Regions from separate parts of the Homo sapiens genome. Here all the other regions are linked to region 1. The links are contacts of gene promoters, found by promoter capture Hi-C in blood cells and fetal thymus (Javierre and others, 2016). All regions are on one chromosome and are shown on one strand. The core of a region is centred on a gene start or on the middle of the fragment in contact, and the rest is flanking DNA. Distances in the headings are between cores, read along the strand shown.

The links. Contacts are between HindIII fragments. The CHiCAGO score rates a contact against its expected background, and 5 or more counts as called.
Region 2: the fragment with the promoter of TRIB3 here is called in contact with a fragment that was not itself captured in region 1 in 1 of 17 cell types (total CD8 T cells); the score reaches 5.2 in total CD8 T cells.
Region 3: a contact is called between the fragment with the promoter of SOX12 here and a fragment that was not itself captured in region 1, in 1 of 17 cell types (fetal thymus). The highest score is 11.9, in fetal thymus.

The regions. Positions count from the first base shown.
Region 1 is chr20:64,257,514-64,262,037 of GRCh38, reverse strand. PCMTD2 (protein-L-isoaspartate (D-aspartate) O-methyltransferase domain containing 2) reads right to left here. Exons shown (of 6, transcript NM_018257.3): 2 at 1,766-2,096. The coding sequence starts at 2,072. Among named protein-coding and RNA genes, the nearest start is that of PCMTD2, 4.0 kb to the right of the region's middle. The HindIII fragment of the contact is 5,734 bases long and covers 1-4,524 here.
Region 2 is chr20:379,100-383,786 of GRCh38, reverse strand. TRIB3 (tribbles pseudokinase 3) reads right to left here and starts at 3,027. Exons shown (of 4, transcript NM_021158.5): 1 at 2,618-3,027. RefSeq lists an enhancer at 910-1,908 and silencers at 1,594-2,183, 2,454-2,563, 2,584-2,743. The HindIII fragment of the contact is 2,528 bases long and covers 1,102-3,629 here.
Region 3 is chr20:323,273-327,714 of GRCh38, reverse strand. SOX12 (SRY-box transcription factor 12) reads right to left here and starts at 2,163. Exons shown (of 1, transcript NM_006943.4): 1 at 1-2,163. The coding sequence starts at 1,790. The coding sequence ends at 843. It overlaps NRSN2-AS1 (NRSN2 antisense RNA 1), which reads left to right and starts at 2,463. Exons shown (of 3, transcript NR_109990.1): 1 at 2,463-2,573. RefSeq lists silencers at 1,034-1,523, 1,544-1,603, 1,674-2,053, 2,164-2,473, 3,034-3,293 and 2 more. The HindIII fragment of the contact is 3,425 bases long and covers 1-2,660 here.

The sequences.
Region 1 (4,524 bases), core at 1,109-3,608:
CAAGCCATCTGCCTGCCTCGGCCTCCCAAAGTGCTGAGATTACAGGCGTGAGCCACCACGCCCCACCATTTCAGGCTTACTTTAAGTCATCTTTTCCTAAGCATTTTGGCTCTTTCCTATAGTATTTCTAATCTAGTCAGCTTGATCACCTATTTCTCCCCAAGGTTCTACCTTAGCTATAGCCCCTATTTTTCAGCTACGTTGGAGGAAATCACAATTCCCAAATTCAAAAATGATAAATAATCTGGGCACTGTGTTCTCTTCTCAAAGCACAGGGATCACAACAGTCTCAATTGAAGAGAAGTTACGGTCAAAAAGCATTATAAAAATCTACACACTTTTACACCTGAAGGTAGCAATCTATAGCATAAAGCCAAAATAATCGGTCTCAAAACTTCACCAAATTCCAATTTATACAGACTTAGAAAAAAAAAACAAAATTATCATTCCATATCCACAAAAATCAATTATAGACGGAGTCTCACTGTCACCTAGGCTGGAGTGCAGTGGTGCAATCATAGCTCACTGCAATCTTGAAGCGATCAAGCGATCCTCCGACCTCGGCTTCCCAAAGGGCTGGGATTACAGGCATGAACCACCAAGCCAAGCCACATTCCTGACGTTTCTTTCACAAGCATATACAGTCCACCCGTAAATCCTGTCAGTTCTAACAGGATTTAGAAAAAATACAGACTCCAGCTTCTCTGCACTGGTTTCATCCAGCGTCTTCTCAGCCAGCTTTGCCTCAGCAGCCTGGCCCCTGCTTCCTGTTTACAGATCAGCTCCTATCACCCCTCCGGCAAAACTTTTCCACCCTACTGAGTTAAAAACAGATGCCTTCCCCGCCCCTCACAGCATTTGGCACCAAGTGATGTTTTTCCTTAGTTATCTGCTATTATTAAAAATAGCCATATTTCCATGTGCAGTCTCACAACTCATTTGTTTGGAAAATAGGCTAAATAGCTTCATAGTGAAATCCCTTCCATCCCTGAAACTAATTTTAAAATCTACAGGTATTACTCTTAGTATTAAAACAAAAAAGTAGGCCAGGCATGGTGGCTCATGCCTGTAATCCCAGCACTTTGGGAGGCTGAGGCAGGTGGAGAGCTGGCGCCCAGGAGTTTGAGACCAGCCTGGGAAACATGGCGAGACCCCGTCTCTAAAAATCATTTAAACATCAGCCAGGGGTGGTGGTGCGTGCCTGTGGCCCTAGGTACTCAGGAGGATTTGCTGGATCCCAGGAGGTCAAGGCTACAGTGGGCCTTGCTCGTGTCACGGCACTCCAGCCTAGACGATGGGGCACAACTGTCAAAAAAAAAAAAAAAAAAAAACCAACAAAACAAAAACTGCTTAGAAGTACTCCGAAAGGACTTTCAAGTTAATTACCATCGATTTAGAGAAGGAGTGACAAGGAAGAATGAGTGATAAAATTAAATCGAGAAATCACAGTGGGGTCAAGATTTACACAACTGTCTTTATCCTCCGCTGTCCAGAGGGCAGGTGCGCAGTACAGGCTGTGGCAGCACAGGAAGAGGGGACAGAGAACAGGAGAGGTCCCTCTGGAGAATCCGGGGCCCATGAGATGCATGCAGGCCTTCCTCCCTCATCCCTCTATCCACCACCCAGTGATGTGTCAATGTCAGATAACTACTGGGAAGGCTGCGGTCTCGACCCAGGCAGGCCATTAGCAGACTACATTTTCTGTCAAAGGAGATGCCTCCTTCCCTGAGACAGATGAGTTTTCAGACTCTCCTTCCACACTTACCTAGAATGAGGCCCACCATGGAGCTGAGATACCCAGTGCCACTGCCCAGGTTCAGAAACGAGAGTCCAGGCTGCAGATCTAGGGCTTCCATCACCTCCGAGTAGATGCACGGGGCTGAGAGGTGAATGTTTCCATGCTTCCATGCCAAGTCTTTATAAGCATTTTCTTTAAATTCTTCAAGATAATAGTCTGCACGATCGATAGCTCTGAAAGCCTGCTCTACCAGCTCAGTCCGGATATACTGTGCTTCTTTCAAATTATCTATCAGCTCATCATTGTCTTCACCAGCACTCACAGCACCGCCCATGTTCAAGATTACACTTAGGCAATACTATAATTAAAAATGTTTAAAAAGAGCGATTTATGTTAAAGGTAAGAGCAGAACAATAGAAGTTCTAAACAGATACCAATTTGAAATTCTGAATTCTGAAAATAATAGATTATCTTTTGTCAACACCCACCTCATCCCCTGCCCCACCCAGAGATGCCAGATTTAGAAGGAAAAAAAATCCCAGTTCAATTGGAAATTAAGGTAAACAACAATACTAAAAGTTATTTGACGTTTATTTGAAATTCAAATTTAGGCCGGGTGCGGTGGGTCATGACTGTAATCCCAGCACTTTGGGAGGCCGAGGCAGTTGGATCACCTGAGGTCAGGAGTTCAAGAACAGCCTGGCCAACATGGTGAAACCCCGTCTCTACTAAAAAATACAAAAATTAGCCAGGCATGCTGGTGGATGCCTGTAATCCCAGCTACTGGCGAGGCTGAGGGAGAAGAATCACTTGAACCCGGGAGGCAGAGGTTGCAGTGATCAGAGCTCGTACCACTGCACTCCAGCTTGCGGAACAGAGCAAGACTCTGTCTCAAAAAAAAAAAAAAAAAAAAGAGAAAAGAAAAAAAACTTTAGGTGGTGTCCTATATTACATCTGGGAATTCTATATCCCCAACATACACAAAAGTACCCACCCAAGTCAAGCAATCCATCTGACCTGTTGATTTGGATATTTTGATGTTCAAATTTTAGACAAAAACAGCAAGAAAACACTCTTCCCAAATTGAACGTACTGTGACAAATACCTTTTTCTAACAAATGCAAAATCAGCTTCCTGGCTAAAGTTTAAGTGTAGGAGGGGCTGCTACCAGAACTTCCTACAGCCCCTCCTCAATTGCATGATACGCAGCTTTCCCAGCTCTTTAAAAATAACAACTACTTGTCTTACCTTCTCCCAACCTGCCTTCAAGAAGAAAAAGCACAGCATGTGTCACCTCTGAGCCTAACTATTAAAATACAGGGTAGCTTCAGCTAATTCACAAGAAAACACTTTTTCACGCGGAGAAGTCTTACTCTTCTTAAAACTACAAAAATATCCTTTCCAATTTTATACTTACCCCATGTAACTTTTTCAAAGTAACTGCTTTAACTTCATATAAAATGGTAATGCTTTACAAAACACCAGATACAAATTGTCAGGGAAAAAGACCACCAGACCTCATGAAGACATTTTCTGAAATGAACACAACCTTTTTAACAACTTGTTATAATTATGATGAAGTTTATACTTGCTTTCCTCCTCACATTCCTCTGGATTTCTAACAGTAGAATGAGGATCGTAAAGAAATACTGTGGGGTGACAAGGGGCCTGGGGCGGATTTCATACACACCCACGTACACAACTGGAGACAGCGGTGGGAGGTTTTCCCAGGAATGAAAATAATCACATAGTTTCTTACAAGTGAACAAAAAGTGTGAAGGGTATAGCTTAACACAAATTCTCTTCTATTTTTATGGTGGAACACTCAATCTTCACACTCAAGATTTTAGAGCTGAATATTAGGTTTTGCAAATCAATAGGATGGTCCAGTCATTAAATTTTCACACCCTTTTTGAATTTTTTGAATTGTTTCGGAGCCCTTGTTAGATTACGGTCCACAGCCAGCTGACTTAGACTTAGATGGAATTAAGTCCTAATGAGGTCAACTTTAATCCTGGATAAGCCACTCAGTTCTGAGGCTGCACCCTAGCCTACCACAGTCATCTTAAAATTTGGGTCAGTGGTTAAAAGCGGAATCATGTGTTTGGATGCTTAAGGGTCTATTTAGGAAAAGAGCTGGAAAATCGCATACCGTCCTCAGTCAAAGCCACCTCTTCACCCAGAAGCCTGTATATAATGTTCCAACATTGTCTCAATGCCACATCTCTAGAAGGTAACCTCAAACTGTATGTTGGATAGGTTTCATTTTCCACTAAGTAACTATCACTTATTTTGAACTCTGCCTTAATTTGAAAGTTCAGACAGCTTTTTAGTAAAAACAAGCACCTTTTTCCAGGTACCACCTGCCAGTCATGGCCTCATTTACACTTCACAACATTAAGAAGCAAATTGGAGCTGGCCGGTTAATTTGTTCATGATCACATAGCCAGTTTGTGAGGAGGGGGCTGCATTCAAACCCAGGACTGTATGGCAAAAGGCCTGTGTTTTTAATACCACACCAGTGCAGCTTTTAAAAATACTCAAGACAGCAACGTTCTTTACCACACAACACACCGGTAACCTTTTGACGATGGGGTAACCCTATCTATACCTATTGCCACTGGTAGGATCCATGTGAATAGCTGTGGGGTCTGATATTTATTACCATCTTTGTCTGGTAATCTAACACTCCCTCGCACTGAAAACCATCGATATGATCAGTCATGATGTCACCAAAAACACCGACAACAAAGCTCTTCGCCAAACCAAATCCTATCATTTTCACC
Region 2 (4,687 bases), core at 1,778-4,277, about 64 Mb after region 1:
GTACCACCTCTGAGGAGTGCATTTTGACAATATCAAAATGAAAAACAGGCTGGGTGCAGTGCTTCATGCCTGTAATCCCAGTACTTTGGGAGGCTGAAGCAGGAAGATCACTTGAGCCCAGGAGTTCAAGACCAGCCTAGGCAACGTAGCGAGACCCTGTCCCTAAGAAAAAAAAAATTATCTGGTCATGATGGCACACAGCTGTAGTCCCAGCCATGCAGGAGGTTGAAGTAGGGGAATCACTTGAGCCCAGAAGGTAAAGGCTTCAGTGAGCCATGGTCAGGAACTCTAGCCTGTGCAACAAAGTGAGACTGTCTCAAAACAAAGCAAAACAAAACAAAACAAAAACAACGATGAAAAGCGTGTGAGCTTTGATTCAGCAATTAATCCCATTGCTAAGAATTTATTCTGTAGAGGTGTGTGTGTGTAAGCATGCAAATACACAGTTATTCCTGCAGCCCTTTTGACAGAAATAATTGGCTGTCTATAATTACAGGGCTGGTTACATAAATTATACTTCATCCACACAACGGAACAATGTGCAGCCATTTAAAAGGTTGAGGATGCTCTTTATAGGGTAATTGGAAGGATCTCCAGAGTGAACTGTTAAGTGAAAGGAAAGCCACCATTCACGCAGCTGTGTGACTGTGTGTGTGGTGGCTGAAGGAGAGGGCAGTAGGGCATGGTCAGGGCAGACGGGTTCTCTCTAGAACCCATCTGCCCACCCACTTAAACTCCATTCCAAGGAGGTGCATGCCCAGGTATGGGCATTGGTGCGAGAGACCTCAGCCTGGTTAAAGACCTTCCCAACAGTTCAAGGCAGGATTAACAAGGCAACATGAGTCAGTTACCAGACAGAGGCCCACCTCTCCAAGTACGCTGCTCCCAAATGGAAGAGCTGCCTTGGAAGGGAAGGCCTCCCCACATGAGTGAAAGGTCATGACTTTGGCTTGGTAAGAATGCAGTAAGGAGTGGCTGTAGTCAGATATTCCTGGGTTCTAATCCTGTCTCAAACCCTTTCTAGCTGGGGGGTACCCCTGGTCAAGTTCCTCAAGCTTTCTGAGCCTCAGTTCCTGTAAAGTGGGAACAGGATGCAAAGCTTACAGGTTTTTCGTGATGATGAAATGAAAACACAAATGAAGCATGTAGAGCTTATGGACCTGTTGCCAGGTAGGTGTCAGGAAATGGTCATTATTAGCACTCATCCTGTTATTCTTCACAGCAAGATGCATAAGTACCATCCTTGGGAGTCTTAGAAAGCTCCCCAGGTTCGAGGCTGGGATGACACTCCTTACATCTCAAGGCTGTTCTGAGTCACGCAGGATGATACCTGGCTGTGCACATGCTTTGTGCCCTGTGCAGCAGGAGACTGCCTGGAGTCCCTCTGGCCTGTGCCACATCAGTAGTCCAGGCTGCCTTGGCCCCGGCCATCCCTCAGAGCCTGTTGGGGCCTGGGATAAGCTCCACCCAGATGGGGACAGATGCGGTAACTGAGTCTATACATCTTGGGCAAGGCATTTTGCAGACCACACTGCAGAATAGAATCTGTGATGTGGAATGAAAGCAGCCCCTAATATCTACCTCTTGCTGTTCCCTGCCACACTCGGGACCCAGGGAAATGAGGGCGGGTTACATCAAGCGCAAGCGCGCGCGCGCACGCACACACACACACACACACACACACACAGCCCTCCCAGCTGTCACACCCATGGTCTACCCGAGCAAGGCCGCACCCCCACCCCGCCCCGCCCCCCGCAGCCAGGCCCCTCCCGTGGGAGCCCAAGCGAAAGGCGGCGGGTGTCCGAGTCAGAAGTTTCAGCGGAAATTGAAGCGCGGCCCTGGGACAGGAGGGGGGTGAGGCAGAGGGAAGGAGGTGGCTGTCGTCCCCCGCCCTCCCCGGTCTGCAGGCACAGCACACACCGCAGACACGCGCGCACCGTCCACCTGCAAACCCGGAGCCGCGCACTGGGGAGAACCAGCGGCCCTGCCGGGCCAGAGATCGCGCGCTGCGCCCCCGCTCCCACTCCCTCGGCTCCCCCGCTCCAGGGCACCCCAGCCCTGTCCCGGCGGTGTCCCCTGCACCGCCAACCCCTGCCACCAAGTGCCCAGCCCTCCAGACAGCTCTCACCATCTCCTGAGACACAGGTGCTCGGGACCCACCCTCACCCAGGACTCTCCCCTGCGGGTTCACGAGGACCCCCTCGGATCCCCCGCCACCCCCAGAGTCCTCCAGTGCCCCCCACAAGCCCCTCACCGCACCACACGACTCCCCTATCCCGCACTCACGCAAAACAGACCCCCGCACGCCCTCCTCTAGGGGTGACGGCCGGACACCTCCGTCCCTGGCTTCCCCAGCCCAACTCGGGCGACCCCACGCTCCGCGGGGCCGCGTCACCTGAAGCCCGGGGGGAGCACTCAGCCCAGGCCCGGATCAAAAGGGATCTGACCTGGCCGCGCCCCGACGGCGGGGTCTGTGAAAAGGTGTGTAAGGGGCGTGCGTGCGTGTAACACGCGGCAACACGCAGACGCCCAGAGGCTTCCGGCGCCCCCTTCCCCGGCCGCCCCCTCCCGCCCCCCGGCCTCCGGGCGAGTCCGCAGGCCGCACCCCGCCGAGTACCTCGCCCCGTCGTTCCGCGTGGGCCCGGGCGCCGCCGGGGCTCAGAGCCTCCAGGGCACCAGCAGGTGGGCCGGCCCGCTGCGCTGCTGCCGAGCTCGGGATCCCAGCCCAGCTCCAGCCCTGCCCGGGTCCTAGCAGCGGACGCGCGCGGAGCCGCCTCCACTTCCGCTGCGAGTCTCGTGCGCGCCCGGCCCCCGGTCCGGGTGATGCAAACCGGAGCTAATCCCCCGGTCCGGGTGATGCAAACCGGAGCTAATCCCCCGGTCCGGGTGATGCAAACCGGAGCTAATCAGCCGCCGTCTGATGCCCTCGGGCCCGGGATCGCACCATCCCCCGCGCCGCGCCCGGGCCTCTCTCCTCTGCATCCGCTGCACCTGGGACCCGCCCTCGCTGGCCCCCTAGGGGCGTCTGGTCAGTGCAGACATCAGCCACGGACTCTCCCTATCACCTTGGAAAAAAAATTTGCTCTTTTTTTTTTTTTTTTTGAGACAGAGTCTTGCTCTGTCGCCCAGGCTGGAGGGCGGTGGCGCGATCTCGGCTCACTGCAAGCTCCGCCTCCCGGGTTCACGCCATTCTCCTGCCTCAGCCTCCCGAGTAGCTGGGACTACAGGCGCCCGCACCACGCCCGGCTAATTTTTTGTATTTTTAGTAGAGACGGGGTTTCACCTTGTTAGCCAGGATGGTCTCGATCTCCTGACCTCGTGATCCACCCGCCTCGGCCTCCCAAAGTGCTGGGATTACAGGCGTGAGCCACCGCGCCCGGCCAAAAATTTGCTCTTCTGAGCCTCGGTTTCCCCACCTATGAAATGGGAAGAACATTCCTCCTTCTCAGGATGGTGCTTAAAAGAGCAAACAGTGACTGTTGTCGGGGTGCTTCCCCTTTTTTATAAAGCACATTCCCAGCACTGCCTTATAAAACCTTTAGGAGAAGTGGACATGCGGGAATCTCCATTCTCCACATTCTACTGAGAGCCAGCCTGAGGCCCAGCTATGGGCAAGTGGTTCAGAAGCTTCAGGAAGGCCTATGGACTTAAGAGCTGACTCTGGGCTCAAAGGAACCACCGTGGCGCCCTTGGGAGGCCTAAGGTCTGCTGAGCTTCCCCGCGTCCCTTTGCTAGAGGCAGTGCGGCCTAGTGGTGAAGAGCCCCTAGAGCCAGCTGGCCTAAGAGTGCACTCCACCTCCGCTCCAACCCACAGTGCTACCCCAGAAAAGCTACCTAAAACCCTGCCTCAACTTCCTGCTCCATAAAATGGGCTCATAATTGCGCTCACTTCATAAAGTTGTTGTGAGGATTAAATAATTTAATATGTGTAAGACGCTTAGAACAGTGTGTGGCACATTGCGGATGCTCAGTGGAGTGTAAACAATGGAGACAGAGAGGGAAAGAGGCCTTTAATATGCTTGCACCCAAGGCCTGGGAGGGCTTGGTGCTACTTGATTTGGGGTGAAACACCCCTCTGCGTCCTAGGCGTCCAGCACCTTTCTTTTTTTTTCTTTTTTTGAGGCAGAGTTTCACTCGTTGCCCAGGATTGAGTGCGATGGCACGATCTCGGCTCACTGCAACCTCCACCTCCCGGGTTCAAGCGATTCTCCTGCCTCAGCCTCCCAAGTAGCTGGGATTACAGGCATGCGCTACTATGCCTGGCTAATTTTGTATTTTTAGTAGAGACAGGGTTTCTCCATGTTGGTCAGGCTGGTCTCGAACTCCTGACCTCAGATAATCCACCTGCCTCGGCCTCCCAAAGTGCTGAGATTACAGGCATGAGCCACCGCGCCCGGCCTGGGTCCAGCACCTTTCTTAGAAATCCCTTTTGATCTGAATTCACCAGTGTCAAAAAATAACTCCTCAGCTGGGTGAGCTGGCTCATGTCTGTAATCCTAGCACTTTGGGAGGCCAAGACGGGAGGATTGCTTGAGGCCAGGAGTTTGAGAACAGCCTGGATGACATAGTAAGACCCTGTCTTTACAAAGAGAAAAAGATAGCGGGCATGGTGGTACGAGCTTGTGGTCCCAGCTACTTAGGAAGCTGAGGTAGGAGGATCACTTGAGCCCAGGAGTTCAGGTTACAG
Region 3 (4,442 bases), core at 914-3,413, about 64 Mb after region 1:
AAAAGGGACGTATAGGTAGGCTGTAGAGGCAGCCACGCGACCGGAGAGGTGGTGCGCGTGGGTGTAGGAGACCCCATACCGGAAAAGGGGCTATGCCACTTGGGAGAGTTTCAGGCCCAAACCAACCCTTCCGAGTGCTCCTCCCATTAAGGCAGCGACGCCCCGTTGGCTGGAGAGGAAACCTAGGGCTCCCGGATCAAAGGATTTCCCAGGATCGCTCTACACTCGCCCCCGCTTTTGCCCGGAGCGGGCGAAGAGTGCGGCTCCGCTGGGACCAGCCCCCTCCTCCCCAGAAGCATTAAGCATGCGCACGAAGGGGGTGGGCCCCAGCGGAGGGGCGGGCCCTAGCGCTCCGGGGATAAAAGGGGTGCGCCCCTCCCCCCAGGGAAGGGAGGGGCGCAGGAGGCGCGTGCGTTGCCACCCGGCCGCATCGCCCCCCTAACCCAGAGAAGGCGGGCCGGGCGAGGGAGGAGAGATTCCGGAGCAAAGGAGGGGGCGGGTCCTCCGGCCACGAGGAGGGGCGTGTGCAAAAGGGGGGAGGGGTGCAGGTCTGTAGGAGAGGACGGGAGGTGTATCGGAGGGGGCTGGCTGCTGGTGGCTGTGCAGGAGGGGGCGACGTGGGGAGGGGCTTGGGTGTCGGGGAAGGGGTGGGGGTTGGGCTGCCTTGGGGTGTGTCTGCGGGGGAGGGGCATGTCTGGATCTGAGGGGGGATGGGCACGTCCAGGAGGGGGCAGGCTGCGCGGGAGATGGGGTGCCAGCCTCGGCCTCCGAGGGGCCCCAATACCTGATTCCTGTATGTAAACAGCTGGTTTGGGGGCGTGCGCGCCCCGCTGACGGTGGGCTCAGTAGGTGAAAACCAGGTCTGCGATGCTAGACGGGCGCCAGTCCCCCGCGATCATCTCGGTAACCTCGGGGGTGCAGTAGTCCGGGAACTCGAAGTGCGACGTGCCCGAGGGAGGCTGCAGGTCCGGGTCGCGATCCAGGGCGCTGCAGTCCAGGCCGGCCGGGCCAGGGGGCAGCCTGGACAGAAAGCCCAGCGACTCCTCCCCCGACGCCACCGTCTCCTCTTCACCTTCCTCAGCCGCTGCCGCCTCCTCCTCCTCTTCCTCCGGCTCCTCGTCCTCCGACGGTGTCGGGGAGGCGGCGGCGGCGGCGGCCGCCCCCTCGCCCGACGGCCCTTGGGCGCGCTCCGCTTGTCCCCGAGCGGCCCGTCCCGCCGGGACCATCCTCCACAGCTCCCGCCCCGGGGTCTCGACCAGGCGCACTTCCAGCAGCTCCTCGTCGTCGTCTTCATCGTCGTCCTCGGGCGCCGCCGCCCCGCCCCCCAAAGGCCCTCCCGCTGCTCGGCGGCCCCCGCGGCCAGGCAGCTGCGGCCCGGGCTTGAGCCGGCTGCCGCCACCGCTACCACCGGGGGGGCGGGGCCGCGCCTTGGCGGGCGCCCCCTTGCTCTTTTTGCGCGGCCGGTACTTGTAGTCCGGGTAATCCGCCATGTGCTTGAGCCGCAGCCGCTCCGCCTCCCGCACGAACGGGATCTTCTCCGAGTCCTGCAGCAGCTGCCAGCGGCGGCCCAGGCGCTTGGAGATCTCGGCGTTGTGCATGTCGGGCCACTGGTCCATGATCTTCCGCCGTTCGTGCTGCGACCACACCATGAATGCGTTCATCGGCCTCTTGATGTGGCCGCTCGGGGTCTTGCACCAGCCGGGCTCGCGCGCCCCCTCCTCGGCCGGCCCGGGTCCCGGGGGCGGCGGCCCGCCGTCCCGCTTGGCCCTCGCGCCCCGCTGCTGCACCATCGCGCCTGGGCCCGGGGCCGCTAGACGCCGCCGGGGGCCGTCCGCATCCTCCGCGGCTGGGGGTGGGGGAGGAGGCAGCGGCGACGGAGGGGCGGCCCCGCCCCGCGGCTCGGCCCGGCCCCCGCGAACTGGGGAGCGAGGAGCTGGGCGCTCGGGCCCAACGGACGGCGGGGGGAGAAGGTCAGCGCGGTCTCAGGCGGGCTCGGCGCGCCCCCGCCGCCTCCGGCAAGTTGCGTCCTGGCTCACAACACACATTGTTTTGCGGGGGCCGAGGAATCGCACCCTCCGGGCCCCCGCGGGCTCTTCCTGCAGCCTCTGGCTCCGCCGCGGCCCGCGCGCGCCGCTCCCCGCCCGGCCGCCGACGCCTTTCAGTGTCTTTCTCCCCGCGCGGCCCCGCCGGCGCGCGCACCACCCCTCCCCCTCGCCGTCTGCGGGCCGCTGCGGCGCGCGCGGGGCCGCCCCGTGTAAACACCGAGGTGCCCGCTTGGGCTGCGGCCGGGCCCCGCCTCGCGCTCGGGCGCCGCGTCACCCGTTGCTGGGCAGAGAAGCCGGTATTTGCATCTCCCAATCGCTGGCCGCCGGAGCGGGGCGGGGCTCGGGCTGCGGGGCTGGGCGGTCTCGCGGCTAGGATTGGGGGAGACCGGCGAGATCGGTTTCTTTTCTTAGGTTAGGGGTTGGAGGAAGGGTAGGGGACGCGAGCCTGCTTCCATCTGACGCTGGACGCTTGTCCCTGCCCCGCGTTGCCTTTTAAATTTTAGCTCATTCCGAGACACCTGCCGTCAGGTAGGATTTCCGCCCTTTCCTCTTTCAGGGACGTCTTTTCGGACCATCCCAGAAGAGAATTTGGGGGGCCCAAGACTCAGGAAAGCTTCTTAAGGGGACGAACTCAGGTTGTCGTAGATGTTGCCCCCCGCCTACTACACACAGGGTCCGACCACATATGGGACCAGCAAATGCTTTTGGACCTAGTGAACAAATCCCTTTCTCATATATATGTATATTTAATCTCGTTCGAAGCTCCATAAGAATCCGGAGGGAGAAGGGAATATGATAATATGATGCCCAGTTTCCAAATAGGAAGCACCGAGGACACGCAGACTAGGATTCGATTCCCAGGCTCGCGGTCCCAGCTGTCTCTCCCCTGCTCAGCACCAAGGGCCGCGGGGCACCTCGCCTGCCAGCCAAAGGTCCTGAGCTGGGCGGACTTCCCGCTTTTCACAAACCGCAGGCGACATTCGAGGATGCGTGGGTGCGCCATTCCCAGGTCCTACCCCACCCCGTAGCCTGCCCGGTGCCCGACTTGGGCGCGTCGCCCCACCCAAGCCTGGAGAAGCGTGCAGGGGCACGGGGCGGAGCCAGTCCTGGGGGCGTGGCCGGGTGGCCGGCACGAGGCGCGTGGCGGGGAGGGGCCGCGCGCTCCCGGCTCACCACGTGTGAGCCAGTTCGGGCACCACTGGGCGTGTGCCGCCCCTGGGGGAGGTCACCTTCACGGCGTCGTGAGCATGGGCGATGGGAGGGGGCGCTGAGGCCTCGCCCTTGGGAAGCAGGAGCTGGGAGGTGCCCGGATTAGGGTCTTTAAGGTGGCATTCCGCTGGGGCGTAGCGGGCATGGTTTGGGGCTAGGAGAATGCGCCTCTGGCGGTACAGCTCACCCACTTCTGGACGAGCGAAGGCCAAGAGCCGAGCTTGAGGGTGTGGGGCGGGGAGGAAGGACCGAGGTGCGGCTCCGCGGCGCGGGGGGCGGGGTGGGGGTGGTGGGGAGAAAGAAATTGGAGCATCCCTGGAGGGAGGGGGCGACTCTTAAAGGCACAGGGTGCTTGGAAGAGGAGGCCCTGCTCCCGTCCAAACGGTCCCTCCGCCTTTCAGAAGCTGAGATCTGGAAAAGCCTACGTGTAAAACCTTTACATCTGCAGCCTGAGCAGTCTACCCGATGGAGTCACACTTCCTGAGTTCACATTCCCAGTCCCTCCTTTTCCTTATCCTGAAAATGGGGATAATTCAGTTTCTCCCTCACATGGTGGTTTTACAGATTAAATGAGATAATGCATGTAAACACATCCTGATACCTAGGCAATGTTCAATAAAACTTATGATAGACGGGACGCGGTGGCTCACACCTGTAATCCCAGCACTTTGGGAAGCCAAGGCGGGCGGATCATTTGAGGTCAGAAGTTCGAGATCCGCCTGGCCGATATGGTGAAACCTTGTCTCTACTAAAAGTACAAAATAATGAGTCAGGCTTGGTGACGCGTACCTGTAATCCCAGCTACTCAGGAGACTGAGGTATGAGAATCGCTTGAACCTAGGAGGCGGATGTTGCAGTGAGCCGCTGCACTCCAGCCTGAGTGACAGAGTGAGACCCTGTCTAAAAAAAAACTAAAAGTTTTGAGAAACTAGATTTCCCAATAGTTACGCAGGTCACCAGCAACCCAGAGACATCACCATAATGAGAAAAAAAAATGGGCAGAGTGGGGACAGCTCTAGGATTTCAGAAAAGGTATCAAAGTAATGATTGTAGGACAAATAAAAGCTTTCTTGGAATTATCAACACCTTAACACTTTTCCCATAAATAAAATATTTGTTTTATTTTAGACGGTGTGTGATAGGTACCACAATCTTTTCAATGCTTATGGCCTCTCAAAGATCTGTCTC